2 separate regions of the Homo sapiens genome follow, and region 2 is linked to region 1. Evidence: promoter capture Hi-C in 16 types of primary human blood cells and fetal thymus (Javierre and others, 2016). All regions are on one chromosome and are shown on one strand. The core of a region is centred on a gene start or on the middle of the fragment in contact, and the rest is flanking DNA. Distances in the headings are between cores, read along the strand shown.

The links. Contacts are between HindIII fragments. The CHiCAGO score rates a contact against its expected background, and 5 or more counts as called.
Region 2: a fragment that was not itself captured here is called in contact with the fragment with the promoter of GASK1B in region 1 in 1 of 17 cell types (M0 macrophages); the score reaches 5.2 in M0 macrophages.

The regions. Positions count from the first base shown.
Region 1 is chr4:158,168,894-158,175,571 of GRCh38, reverse strand. It overlaps GASK1B (golgi associated kinase 1B), which reads left to right and starts at 2,547. Exons shown (of 5, transcript NM_001128424.2): 1 at 2,547-2,704; 2 at 3,973-5,106. The coding sequence starts at 4,197. It overlaps GASK1B-AS1 (GASK1B antisense RNA 1), which reads right to left and starts at 4,820. Exons shown (of 5, transcript NR_147410.1): 1 at 4,092-4,820. It overlaps LOC101928007 (a long non-coding RNA gene), which reads left to right. Exons shown (of 4, transcript XR_007058350.1): 3 at 1,306-1,458; 4 at 1,764-1,884. RefSeq lists enhancers at 3,171-4,370, 4,544-5,064. The HindIII fragment of the contact is 3,483 bases long and covers 1-3,018 here.
Region 2 is chr4:156,948,157-156,954,834 of GRCh38, reverse strand. The region is part of intron 1 of PDGFC (platelet derived growth factor C); the gene reads left to right. Among named protein-coding and RNA genes, the nearest start is that of PDGFC, 20 kb to the left of the region's middle. The HindIII fragment of the contact is 4,504 bases long and covers 1,701-6,204 here.

The DNA of each region.
Region 1 (6,678 bases), core at 1,298-3,797:
AGGTAATTCCGATGGTCCCTACCATTATCTTACTGTCTACTTTTTCACTTTATTTCTCTCATTGTTTTTTAAGAAGAGAAAGTACTTTAGGCATGAGAATTATTTGTCTCTCTGATCTAATAATATTAATAATAATGAATACTTTGAGTTCTATATGTTCACTCACAGATTATATTGTAAGTTATACACGAATGTTATATTGTGGCAACAAATTTTCAAGCTAACGCTTGTTCAAGGAATTTAGCCTTATTTTTCTAAAACTAAATTAAACTTCTCTGTTTCCCATGCTACCTGATGGCAAAAAACACCTTTCCATTCAGTTTCAACAGAGACCATGAGCAATTGATGGCAATTGCTTCCACATTCGAAAATGAGATATGGATCCGCAGTGCTAAGGGAGGTGGGTTGCTGCATTGGGAAGTCTGAGGTTGCTGGAGCAAATGATGGTGACCATGTCCACTGGATCACTTGTGGGGCAGTACACAGAGGCCCAAGTTAGAAAACCAGCCTGCAGGTCAGCTTAAATGCTGCCTAAGAGAACAGCCTGGAGAGATGAGGTGATCTCAACAGAACAGGGGGCTACCAAGTTCCAAGGGACTAAGGGGCCATCAACAGCCAGCTAGAGAGATGCTTTGATAGTGGTGTCTTTGAATTAACTATCTCAGAGTCAGCTTTACACACCTGCCAAACCTGGAGAGCTTATAAGTCAATTTGCAGCAGTATCAATGGAGTAGCAAGGCCATTTCTGCTATTATTGCTTCTCTCTCTCCACTACCTTGGAACAGCCAGAGCCAGGCTCAAAGTGGGGTGAGCGGCTGGGTGAGTGGTTAAGGAATAAGAGCTCTAGGCAGGAACAAAAAAGAATGTAAGATGGGTCTCCTCTGTCCCTTTTCAGTAGATTTTGGCTATGCTTTTTGAGGGACTGCTATCTTCTGGAGAAATTCTGGGAATTTAAAAGAAATTTTTAAAGAAATTGACTGTGATATAGAATCAAACATATTAATTAGTTTATGTGTATTATGTGTCTGTATGTCTATGGCTAACAACTGGAGAACTTTTACAAAAATTTAAGTATGACTGGAAAAGTCATGGGGACTGCCTGAGTTTCCATTTAAGAAAGTTGAAAAGAGATATCAGGCCACAGAACAGGTTTCAATGGGCAGTGGGGGGAATCACTAAAATTGTGCTCTGATTATATCTGACAAGCCCCATTTATCCACTGTATTGGCTATATCAATATGTTGGCTACAAATAATTCAGTGTGCTTGTCCTCAATTCTACCATGATTGCTTTGCTGTGGTGCAGTGGTGACTATCTGTCAAGGCCTGGGCTGAGGAGAGAGGCCTCTGAGCAGTTTAATGAGGCATCATGGGGGATAAAAACAAACACATTGCTGAATATTTCAAATGATCATTCCAAGGCTGCTATCTCATTCAGTCATCAGAAGAAACCGATAGGGTAAGTGCTATTATTTTTCTTTTCTTACACATGGGGGAAACTGAGGCTTAGAGAGGTAAGATTACTTGCCACAGGGGACCACACGTAAGAGGTAAATGAGGAGAATTTAAAGCCAGTCTGCCTCCCTCTTCAGCCCATTCTCTGAATATCATAGTTCAGAGTAGATAGTGTAGCCTCCACGAATCCCTATTGTGGCTATAGCAGGGGACAGTGTATTGTTCTTTTTCTAGGAGACATTTTTGGAGTGGGGGTGGGAAGGTAGTCAACGAAATTTACTAACTCACACAACTCTCCCTATCTCGTAGGCATTTCTCCATGAAAAAAATAGCTCTAAAAACAGCTAGAGGAGATGTCTGCTTATTATAACTGGCCTCTGCCAAAGGCTTACTTTTAATTGTTATAGAGCCAGGTCAGTTATTCCTTTGACTGTGGAAATAATAAGATGGTTATAAAATGCAGCTTTGGTATGGTTTCCTTGCAAGAAGTTCACATTTTCTATCAAGAAAATAATTCTGTGTGTATGGAAGTGTGTGCCTAAGAGTTTTTGAGTGCAGATAAAATTGTTTTGATGCCTGAATTCTCACAAAGTTTAGCCAAAATATCCAGGTACTTCCAGGCTACTGTCAATATTGGGATTGCTCCTTCTCATTCCTCCATGTGGCAGGACTTTTAAAGAGGAAAAAAGGACTGAGTTTAGAGTGCTGAAATAACAGCCCGATTATAATTTTTGTCAATTTACCACTTGGACGTTTATTCTCTCCTTCCCTATATATTCCAACTCCTTGCTCTTTTTGCATTGTAAAATATAGTATTTTTAGGATTATACACCATATGCTAATCTTTTACCCACTCTTCAGTATCACAACTTTCTTTCTCTGTGGGGAGGAAAAATCCCTGTCCCCTTTCTGTCTTCTTGCCTTTTGATTCTATTTGCCATAGTCTAATTGACACCCCAAGGTCATCAGCCCCTGCCTTTGTGCTAGGACACGCAAACCACCCAGGCCAATCCCTAACCTGTTTTTTCAAAAAACCTCCAATCAGAGAGAATCCACGACTTCCTTTTGTGAACTGTTGCACCGTGCAATTGCACACTATAAATGTCTTTCCTTATCTGTGTGTACTCTTATCTCACTGTTCTATTTTTTCTCCTCATTTATATTAACTCTTTCTTACCTTTTTTTCTGAACTTCTAGGCCTTCTCTTTCCAGAACTGGTGGAAGACAAATGAAACGGCCAAGATGGTAAGGTGAGTAGTTCCTGGGAACGCTTGTGCTCTAACCCCAAGTTATGTGGGATGGACACTCGAGGGGTGATGGCATTCCTCATTTTACAAGTTACTTGCTTGGCTGCGGCTGCTCCACCAAGATAGCAAACATTCTCGATCTTTTGAACTTCATGAGACTGACATTTCTGAGTCTGTTTGCGAACAGGACACTAGAGGGCTCCCAGGGGTTAAAAATAAGTGGAAATTTATTTGAATGAAAACTGATTCTCTACGGCATTTCTTTTTTCCGAATTTAAAATTAAAGTTTATTTTGTTAACTATTGTTTTTAAAAGCTTTGTATCTCTTAAAACCATGCAGCAGTCAGTTTCCAAGTTTTGCTTTGCAATCAGTAGTTTTCAAGGGAGCTTTTAAAGCTGAACTGAAATGTTTGAAATGTGGAACACTCTTGACCATGAAATATGTTCTACTTACATGCCTCAGCCTTTAAAAGTTCTTTGCATTAGAGTCAAGGATTACATTCTTCCTGGAGCCAAGCATGGGGCCAGCTGTGTAAGTAAGGTTGCTTACGAGTTTCTTCTTTTTCTTTTTAATAGTGAAAAAACAGAACTAGAGATGCTTTTATTTTCTTTCAGCTGACTTCGGTGGAAAGAAAAGAAATAAAAAGCAGTCAGAGTTGTGTTGTGTTGTGTGTGTGTATGTGTGTGAGAGAGAGAGAAAGAGAGAGAGAGAGAGAAACAGAATAAATGCAACTGCTTCCAAGATATATGGACATTTATGGCTTTGTATTATACTAACAATGTAAGCTAATGGAACATATTATTAATATGAAGTACAATTTGTACCTTTAGACTAAGAGAATATGTTTCTAAATTTTATTGTTAATACTTGCTGCTTGTACTTAGTTAATTCAGGACTTTAAAAAATAAAAATGGTATAGGTATAGAGTATTAAAAAATTATCTATTACTTGTCTTAAGTTCTTTCTGAATTTCAAAAAGGAAAAGCCCAGGTTTGTCACATTTTAACGCTTTTGCTTCAGAGTCAACTTAAATGACTCTAGGTACAAGTTATAAAACACTCTTGGATTTTTGTGGCTTGTTTTCACTACTTTCAAGTGACTATCAAATCTATACATCTATCTCGTTTGCATGCTTTTAAATTTTATTTTTAAAAACATTTAGTGGTGATATTTATGAAAGGAAATGATTACTTTTTTTCTTGACTCTTGTAGAGGAACTTAAATGGTTTGAAATTGTGACTCAGTTAACTCTGTATCCATTCATTCCCAGAAACAAGCCGCATTTCTCCTTGGGGAGACTGATAATTTAAAAGGTTTGTTGTGTCAGAAACATTCCCAGCTTCATCACCAACCCTTTCCTTCCACCTCTGCCCACTGGAGACCACTTATATCCCGAAGCGGACGCGGCAGCTGAAGTCAGGAAACCATGCATCACATTAGCAGGAGCCAACTGCAGACTTTAAACTCCGTTCAACATGTGGATGCGGCAGAGAAATGACCTGTCCAGACAAGCCGGGGCAGCTCATAAACTGGTTCATCTGCTCCCTGTGCGTCCCGCGGGTGCGTAAGCTCTGGAGCAGCCGGCGTCCAAGGACCCGGAGAAACCTTCTGCTGGGCACTGCGTGTGCCATCTACTTGGGCTTCCTGGTGAGCCAGGTGGGGAGGGCCTCTCTCCAGCATGGACAGGCGGCTGAGAAGGGGCCACATCGCAGCCGCGACACCGCCGAGCCATCCTTCCCTGAGATACCCCTGGATGGTACCCTGGCCCCTCCAGAGTCCCAGGGCAATGGGTCCACTCTGCAGCCCAATGTGGTGTACATTACCCTACGCTCCAAGCGCAGCAAGCCGGCCAATATCCGTGGCACCGTGAAGCCCAAGCGCAGGAAAAAGCATGCAGTGGCATCGGCTGCCCCAGGGCAGGAGGCTTTGGTCGGACCATCCCTTCAGCCGCAGGAAGCGGCAAGGGAAGCTGATGCTGTAGCACCTGGGTACGCTCAGGGAGCAAACCTGGTTAAGATTGGAGAGCGACCCTGGAGGTTGGTGCGGGGTCCGGGAGTGCGAGCCGGGGGCCCAGACTTCCTGCAGCCCAGCTCCAGGGAGAGCAACATTAGGATCTACAGCGAGAGCGCCCCCTCCTGGCTGAGCAAAGATGACATCCGAAGAATGCGACTCTTGGCGGACAGCGCAGTGGCAGGGCTCCGGCCTGTGTCCTCTAGGAGCGGAGCCCGTTTGCTGGTGCTGGAGGGGGGCGCACCTGGCGCTGTGCTCCGCTGTGGCCCTAGCCCCTGTGGGCTTCTCAAGCAGCCCTTGGACATGAGTGAGGTGTTTGCCTTCCACCTAGACAGGATCCTGGGGCTCAACAGGACCCTGCCGTCTGTGAGCAGGAAAGCAGAGTTCATCCAAGGTAACAGATTCACATGCTTCGTTATTTGCAGCTGTTGGGGATTCTGGTTCATTTTCTTTTTTCCCTCACTCTCTTTTTCTAAATGATTTTTCTCCACCCACGGTTCACATTTGGACAGCAGCAGCAGCAGCGTGTCTTTCCATGCGCTTGGCATTCTTTATTTTCCCAGCCTGGGAGGATATGAGAGTTCCAGGGAAATGCTGTATTGGACATGCAAGAGTAAGCCCATACTGTATAATCTTTGCTCTCCATTTCCCTCGCTTCACTTCCCAGTGGCTTATTAAATCTAATTAAAGCCAACGGCAATTTGCATGATGAGGAGAGGAAGCTAGGCTGGAGGCAAAGAACTTGCTGACAGTCAGGCATACTATTAAATAGGTTACTATGGGAGGAAGTAGAAGTTTTTAAAAGTAAGGGGGAAGCGGGTTATCGTTCTTGAGCAGATGGAATCTTCTTAAGCCGCGCAGAGCCAGACCATGTTAGGTTTAACCCCCCCTTTTTTTTTCAATGGATTTAACCTCTTTATTTAACAAATAAAAAGAATGAGCAAAAATTGGTGATTTGTTCAGTATGTATACTAACTAGCTGTGTGGTTTTATCAAGCCCCTGACTATGATCTATTGAGTCTGTCTTTCAAGATTCTCCCGTCTTGGGTGACAAACATTTTGGCAGGTTCTAACACATGTAGCCAGTTACTGCAGTTGCCAGCAAAAGGACTGGTCTGCGGTCATGCCCATGCCATATAAAGGATATTCTCTGAATATTAAAGCTATTCCAGGGCTCGAATACAAAGTACAGTGAGTCAGTGGCTTATGTTTGAATGCAGAATGATGCCAGAAGTTACAACTTTGAATCCAGATTGGCCCAAGAGGCTAAAATGTACCCCAAAGAGATTATAAGCTGAAAGGATACTTAACTTTCTCCATGTTACCATGAAATTTAGCATTTCAGTGAGGTTCCCAGGGAGCCTAGAATGGAATGGATTAAAATCCCTGGGAGTGGCTGAGACCCAACTGCATTTCCAATGGCTTTAGCATTATAATTTCATTTTAAAATGGATACCCCTGGAAGTACCAGTGATTTACTTAGAAAAATTGGACATTCCCTACTGATGGTGGTTCTTGTCTAAGTGCTCCAGATTCACAGGTATGCTTTGATGTCTCAAGTTTATAAAGCAGTCCACCACAGTTATGCCAATGTAAGAAACCTTCTCAAACATTTAATCTAATGTTGATAAAAATGAATTTTTATTGGGTGCCCACAATTTGCTAAGGATTATACAAATTGATTCATATGTGTTGGCTCCTAGAATTTTCATAACAATGCTATGAAGTGGGGACTATTATTATTTCCATTTAGTAGATGAGAAAATTGAGGCTTATTGAGACAAAGTAATTGGCCTCAACTCCCACAGCTAGTAGGTGGCTAAGCTGGGTTTTGACTATAGACCCAGCAAACTTCAGAACATAACTTCTTAGCCACTGGACTTAGGTGAATATGTAACTTATTATCCAAACTGGAACCGTGTGGCGTGAAAGGAGATGCTGGTGGGCATTGGGACAACAGGCCCAC
Region 2 (6,678 bases), core at 2,703-5,202, 1.2 Mb after region 1:
GATGGGTTCTAAACGAGTCATATGCCTTATTTCACAGCTGGGGGATGCGCCTAACGTCTGGCTTCATTTTAAGGAACTACAAGGGGCTAACTGGAGAGCCTCAATCTTTTTGCTTAGACTGAGTAAAATGAATGCACAAAGAACATGATTGGCAAAATTATAATGATGACTGCTTAGAATGTTATTTCCTCAATAAGAAAAAAAAATGTATCATTTCCAGGAAACTTATTTTTAAACAGGGAACTTTAGGATAAAGTTTTATTGCAATCAATTTATTATAGAGAAGAGCATGACCATCGCAAGTTCATTTTCAGTAACTTTGACGTATTTTTTGTTTTGAATTATTTCCCCTTTTGCTCTTTCTAGTTAACATAAGATATAACTCATGTGCTTTCTTATTTTTAGTTTGTTTTTCTCTTTTGCTTTGAGGTTTTGAGATTGACAACTGTGATTTATCCCAGAGAAGGCAAAAATCTTGAAAAAGTCAGTCTTTTAAAAAGTCACTCAAAGAATATAGTTTTTTTTCCCTTGGAAATAAAGTTGATTTTCTCAGCTCTGATCCTATGAGATTATGGGCAGAACTAAATAGTCCTTAGTTCTGGCATGTGGACAAAACAGAAGCAGACCCTGGAGAGAGAGTTCAAAATTCATGACAGTAAGCACATGTTCGGTATGCCAATATTTATGGTGTCACAACCAAATTGAAACCATAACCCTCTGCTATTTACGTAAGTATGGTGCCCAGACTGCACAAGGTTATGCCTATGTTTCCCAGTAAATTTAAGGCAATAGAAATGTTCAGTACCCCTAGAGACCAGACTATTTATTTTCATGTTCATTTTGTTTCTCTATATGAGGCAGAGTGAATTGTCTTAATTTATATTCATATTTGAAGTCAGCCAGAATGAGAAGGAATGGCATTTAGTGAGGATAGAGAATGGTTTTGTGCTTTCATATGTAATGTATCCAGGCCATTGTGTCCTGGTATTCTTAGTTTCTGAGCTGGGGTGAGTTGGGGGTATTGATTATTGATAGTGAACATAGACTGCTTCTTAGATGGGTAAAGCTCAATGTTCGTATCTTACGTCTTATGCTCTTAGAGAACCTGGGTTTCACCACTTTGGTCAAAAACAGACACACATACTGTTGGTAAGAAGTCATGTTTTATGTCTTTTTATAGAAACTTTGAAAGTATTATCATTCTAAAGTATTTATCGTCCGGTAAAATTTTAAGAACAATGAAGTTTCAGAACCACTATTGAGAGTACATCTTTTTTTCTCTACTTTTTCAAGACAAAGATATCTAGTAACTTAAATTATAGTAACATCGTCATGCACTTGTACAGCAATATAAATGAGAAAGATAATAGAAAAACCAAATAGCATATCACATTTGCTGAATGTGAATACGTTCTTAATGAACCTTTTTAGAATCTCAGACTCCTTCTGATCCCTTTACCATTAGTTGACTTTAGTCTAGAAAACAACTTGGACAGTAACCAGATTGCTAGGTGTCTTTAGTAAGTTGGCTGTTTGATTTGGCTCTTTGAGAGGTGGTCCTATATCTCTGTCAAGGGAAAGTTTTTCAAAACAATTGGTGACTGGAAAATGAGGAATGTTTTGTGCAAGAAGGGAGGCTTTCTCGTTTACAGGATAAAAGACATTTTGGAAGAGTAACTCCCAAGTAAGCAAATGAAGCTTGACTATGTAAATCCTTTTACTTAAGGGATAGAATCCAAGATATTTAAGAAGTCATTTTATTTCTTGAGTTCAGTTATTTAAACATTGTGCTTAGGCTTTTTGTTGGTACTCCAAACATTTTATTAAGATTTCCCTTGGTGTTTTCATAAAAAGACAAAATTCATTATGTTTTATTTGTAAATAATTGTCTTAAACCTAGATGAAAGAGAAAACAAACTTTTCTGTATCATATTCTTTCAGACTAGTTATTCAGTGTTTTTTATGCCCCAAATTTGAAAATGATCACAAATTTTTCACTGATCTGTTTATGTCTAATTTTGGTGCTGGAAAAATAAAAACAGATTACTTAGGGTGTTTAAATCCTGTACAGATTAGTAAACAATACCAAGGAAATTTACTTGGTGTTACTAGAAGGTTGAGGAAGGTTACTGGCTTTTGCAGTCCATTAGTAGATCAATTTGTTAAATGTTTAGTGCTAGGAATCTCATTTATCAGGAAATATCTTAGGCATTGGGGAGAATTGGCCTGTGGTATTTACATTTTAGTCTAGTTGCCAAAATTGATTTTCACGTTTTGTGTGTGACTTAGCTCTTTGTACTGCAGTAGATACCAGGTTAAAGCATAGTTCATATCTTAAAACATTAATAGATTTTGTTTCAGTGCTGCCAATAATTTCAGTGAGTAACAAAAAAACTCCACACTTTCATTAAAATGTTCTTAATGATTTCTGTTTGATTTTCTACGTAGTGATAAATGTTGCCATTTACCCCAGCGGTTTAATAACAACAAATAAGTATTACATTTTGAAGAAACTTGGCAGTATCATTGAATGCCAGTGTGTAATAGCTAATCTATAATTTAGGTTAATTCCATCATTAGTTTGTGACTTGAAATTCTTTGTTTCTGACTGTTTCATGACTTCTTTAAGCACAAAGAGGATATTGGTAGAATCAGGTATGTAGCAAAAGGTCTAGAAATACAGTTTTGATTATTTGAAACACTAGTATTTTAAAATCCAGCAGATGCATTCCTTTGCCTAAATATATTGTGTCTTATGCTATAAAGAGGACACATTTTGTTTTGTTTTAGTGTACATATTAAAACAGTTTATATCCCAAATAAGCTAATATGACTAATGGTTGTCACTGCCCTAATTTTGGGGAAGAAAGTTTGAATCAGAAAAGTGTTCTTGGAAGAAGAATACTCTTTTTTCCTATCTATTTAGGCATTCACTGGAACTTTCTTTACTTCTAAAATTTATGCTTGAAATGGCTCAGAGTTTGTGTATGTGGAGCATATTGGAGGCTGATTGTATCTGTGAGTTTAGGAAAGACTTAACTTGATCCCTTGTGCAATGAAGTCTTTCAAAGAAAACGAGGGTTTTTTGTTTTTTTTTTTTTTTCTATAAGGTAGAGTGGATATTCAGGCTCAGATTTTAGCTAAATTAAGAAGGACCTTTCTCTGTCCAGAATAGTATCACAAAATTAAGACTGGCTCTGGAAGAGAGACAGAGGATGCCCTCTTTTCATTGTCATACACCATTTGAATTGTGTTTGATAAATTTATATTGTGACCTTGAAAATGAAACCACTCAGAAATCCTGGTTAATTTCTGCCCCATGCGTCAGTCTCAAAGGGGAGACCTGCCTTTGCCAACAGACCATTCAGTAAGAAACAAAAATATTAAAACTCCACAATCACAACTTATATGGTCAATAATGGTTTCAAAAATTAAAAAAATTGATCCTGGCATATTTACAAGCAATTATATATAAATACAGGAACATGTATATTATGAATTTTCTTTAAACTATTTGCCTGCATTGATTATAGAGAGAATGAAGCCTCACAATGAAATCTGATTGAATAAATTTAAACACTGTTGTGATCACGAGCGTTGTTTTATTAAGTCACTGGAATGTAAGATACATGAAGCCTGAAATTTTAGTTGTTGTTATTGGAGGTTTATTTATTTTCTCCTACTGCTTTATCTTCAGGATCTAGAACCTTGCCTGGCAGGCAGTAGGTACTCTTAACATTATTTGTTTAGTGAATGAAGAGAAGGGTGTAAGAAGCATCTACCTCTGGAGATAAAAATACAGTGAGGTGAAAGAGAAGTATATATTTTCCTTTCTCCTTGTTTAGGTTATAAACTGTCATATCCATAGCGCCTAGATCAGGGCTTGGTAGTTACTCTGAAATTGAAAGATTCAATAAGTGAATTTTTACATGAAGAAAAATGTGAACTGCTGATTTTGTCTGTTATATCAATTGTCATTTTACTTTTGCTCTTTTTGCCAATTTCTAGAATTTTTTTCTTATTTATTTCATAAATTTGTAGTCATTTAGCAATTCAACAATTATAAACATTTGGAAGTTCTGTGTATTTGTGGGTATAAATAGATTTTTTTTCTGATTTAACACTGCTTTCAAATTGCTTATTGAACTATAGTGGAGAGGAAAAAAAAAGAACTTTTCTTCTACCTCTTAGGTTTAGAAGTTAAACTACAAATTAAACTGACAAAAGACAGAGTAACAGGAGAAAAGGCATATTAATTTTATTAATATTTTAAATTTTGTGTGCATAAGGGCTTCAAAGTAAGGATGTGAAAATCTTAAAAAGCAGTTAGACTTGGGATTTTCTATACCGTTTTAATGAATGGTGATAAATTGTGGAGGAGTGACTAGACAATGGAAAGGGGATTTGAGCTTCTAGCGCCAATGAAGTTTGGGAAAGTGACCAAAAAACATGGGGAAACTAATATTATTATCTAATCATAACAGATAATGTTATTTTAGTAAGGTTATTTTAGTTAAGTCTGCATATACAGTCTCATTCCAGCGCCAGCTGTTTGTCTGTGCTAAGGGTCACTTTCCTCATCCTGGAATGGAGGGAAAGGGGGCATTTATGTCATCTTCAAAAAGGAAAATTTATGTACTACTTTTCGGCAGATAACTGGAGAACGGAGAACTTTTCCCAAATCTGTTTATTCTTACTTGTCTTCAGCTCAAAATAATCCTTATGCCAGAAAGGCATATTTTAGGGTGTCATACTCGAGACCCCTTCATAATCATTGATTAAAACATATGACTGTTTCTGATAGCATATATAGCCTAGGAAAAATGTCATAGGTAGTGCTGGTGGTTGTTGGACATGCTGTTGCTTATGTACCTTTGAGTGAAGCTATTTTTATTTCCTGTTATGCTTACTGCTTGTTTTCCTGAAGGTAAAGCTGTAAGTTACAAATATATGTGACCCAATTCTTAACAGCTTCTGCCAGGACTGACCCTATATCATCTCAGGTATGTCCTCAAGGGGACGTAGGGGAAGGGGAAACAGTTCTGTTTTCTCATTTGTGCAGTCTTTGATTTCCATAGAAAGTCAAAAGTCATTCTAGTAATACACACTTAGGAAATGTGAAGTGCTATGACTCATTTTATTTTGGCTTTGCACAGTGTAGAAAATTTCTTGGCTAGGAAGAAATTCCTTTTCAAACTACCAGTCCTCCCCAAACAATTCTCCTCCCTTCTGAATAGGTAGTTCTCTCTTTGCACAGACATTCTTCTGGGCTTAGCTGCTGTGTAACCTCTTAACCCTTCATTAATAATTTCCTGAGGCCAGTTTGTTATAAAGAAATATTGCAGCACAGACAGTGTGTGAGCAAGAGAGAGAGAGAGAAAGAGCGAGAGAGAAAGAGAGAGAGACACACACACATACTACTTTTTAATGACCAACTAGAATGGGGTTAATGCTCTGAAAGAAATAAAAAAAAAAGTACACATTAGACTTTTTCCCCATTACTTTGCACGTTAATCAAGGAGATCACCCCCTTAGGCAGAAGGTAATAAATACTTTTCAACTTCTCTCTGTTATTCAGAATAAATGGCTCATTTCTATATTATACACATATTTAAATGCTTTGAGTATTTAAAAGAATAATCATGAATCTTTCAAAGAATTCTTAATAGTAGGAGACCGTTGGTGAGTAAATTTATCTCTTTTTGGTTCTTAACAAAAGAGATAGTCTCTCTTTTCTTGAAGAAATCACCAAGGAACTGGATGTTTTCAGAGATGGACATTTGGGCTTCCACTCTCCTGCGCTATAATCCTTTCTCACCTTTCTCATATTTCAGCAGCACAGGACCTCGGTGAATTTCACACTGGTCCCTTGGCTAGCCAGTAGAGCAATAAACCTCCCATGAGAAATGCTGTGAATTACACAGAGCTGTCATTACTCAGGGGATACGGGGCAATGATCAAAATGCTGCCTCCACAGAGAAATGCTCACACTCTAATGTTAAGTGAAAAAGCAGGGTGAGAATAAGATTTTAAATATTTTTATGTATGCCCCCATAAATATTTCTATGTATGTAGAGGAACTAGAATGAAATACACTAAAATGTTGTAAGTATTTCATCTATAAAGGCTGTAGGGCAGCGGTGGGGGTGTTGGTACTTTCCTTTCTAAAATACATAGTATTTTCCAAATTTCCTATAGTAAGCTTATATTACTACTATATTAGAAACAATGCTGTGCTAATTCCTTAAACCTAATTTAAACAGAGGGTTCAGGGAAGGCAAATACAAATAGCATTTTCTCCTATTGTAACGGAAAGCACCTTAATATGCCAAGACTTTTTTTAGAAGCCTAGGAGGTGGCATTCTTAAAGGTGGCCCTTCAGGCTTAAGATTTAAAATTGGCTCTTAATTTTATCCCAGAGCTCGATGTGGATATAGTCAAAGCGGCCGCAGCAGTCGGTGCAGGAGAGCCATCACAACAATTATCTATGTTGTTTTTGGCAGTTTATAAGAAATGTTGTTTTCACAAGACCTAAGAGTTTTGTCTGGGAAGAAAGAAGATAGCTGCCAACATTTGGCACCATATGGGGTTTTCGTCTTTTCCTTTTTTTTTTTTTTTTAGCTGTACATCCCCTCTTGAGCCTTGAAGATCAAGACAATATTCTGGGAGGTTTTTTTT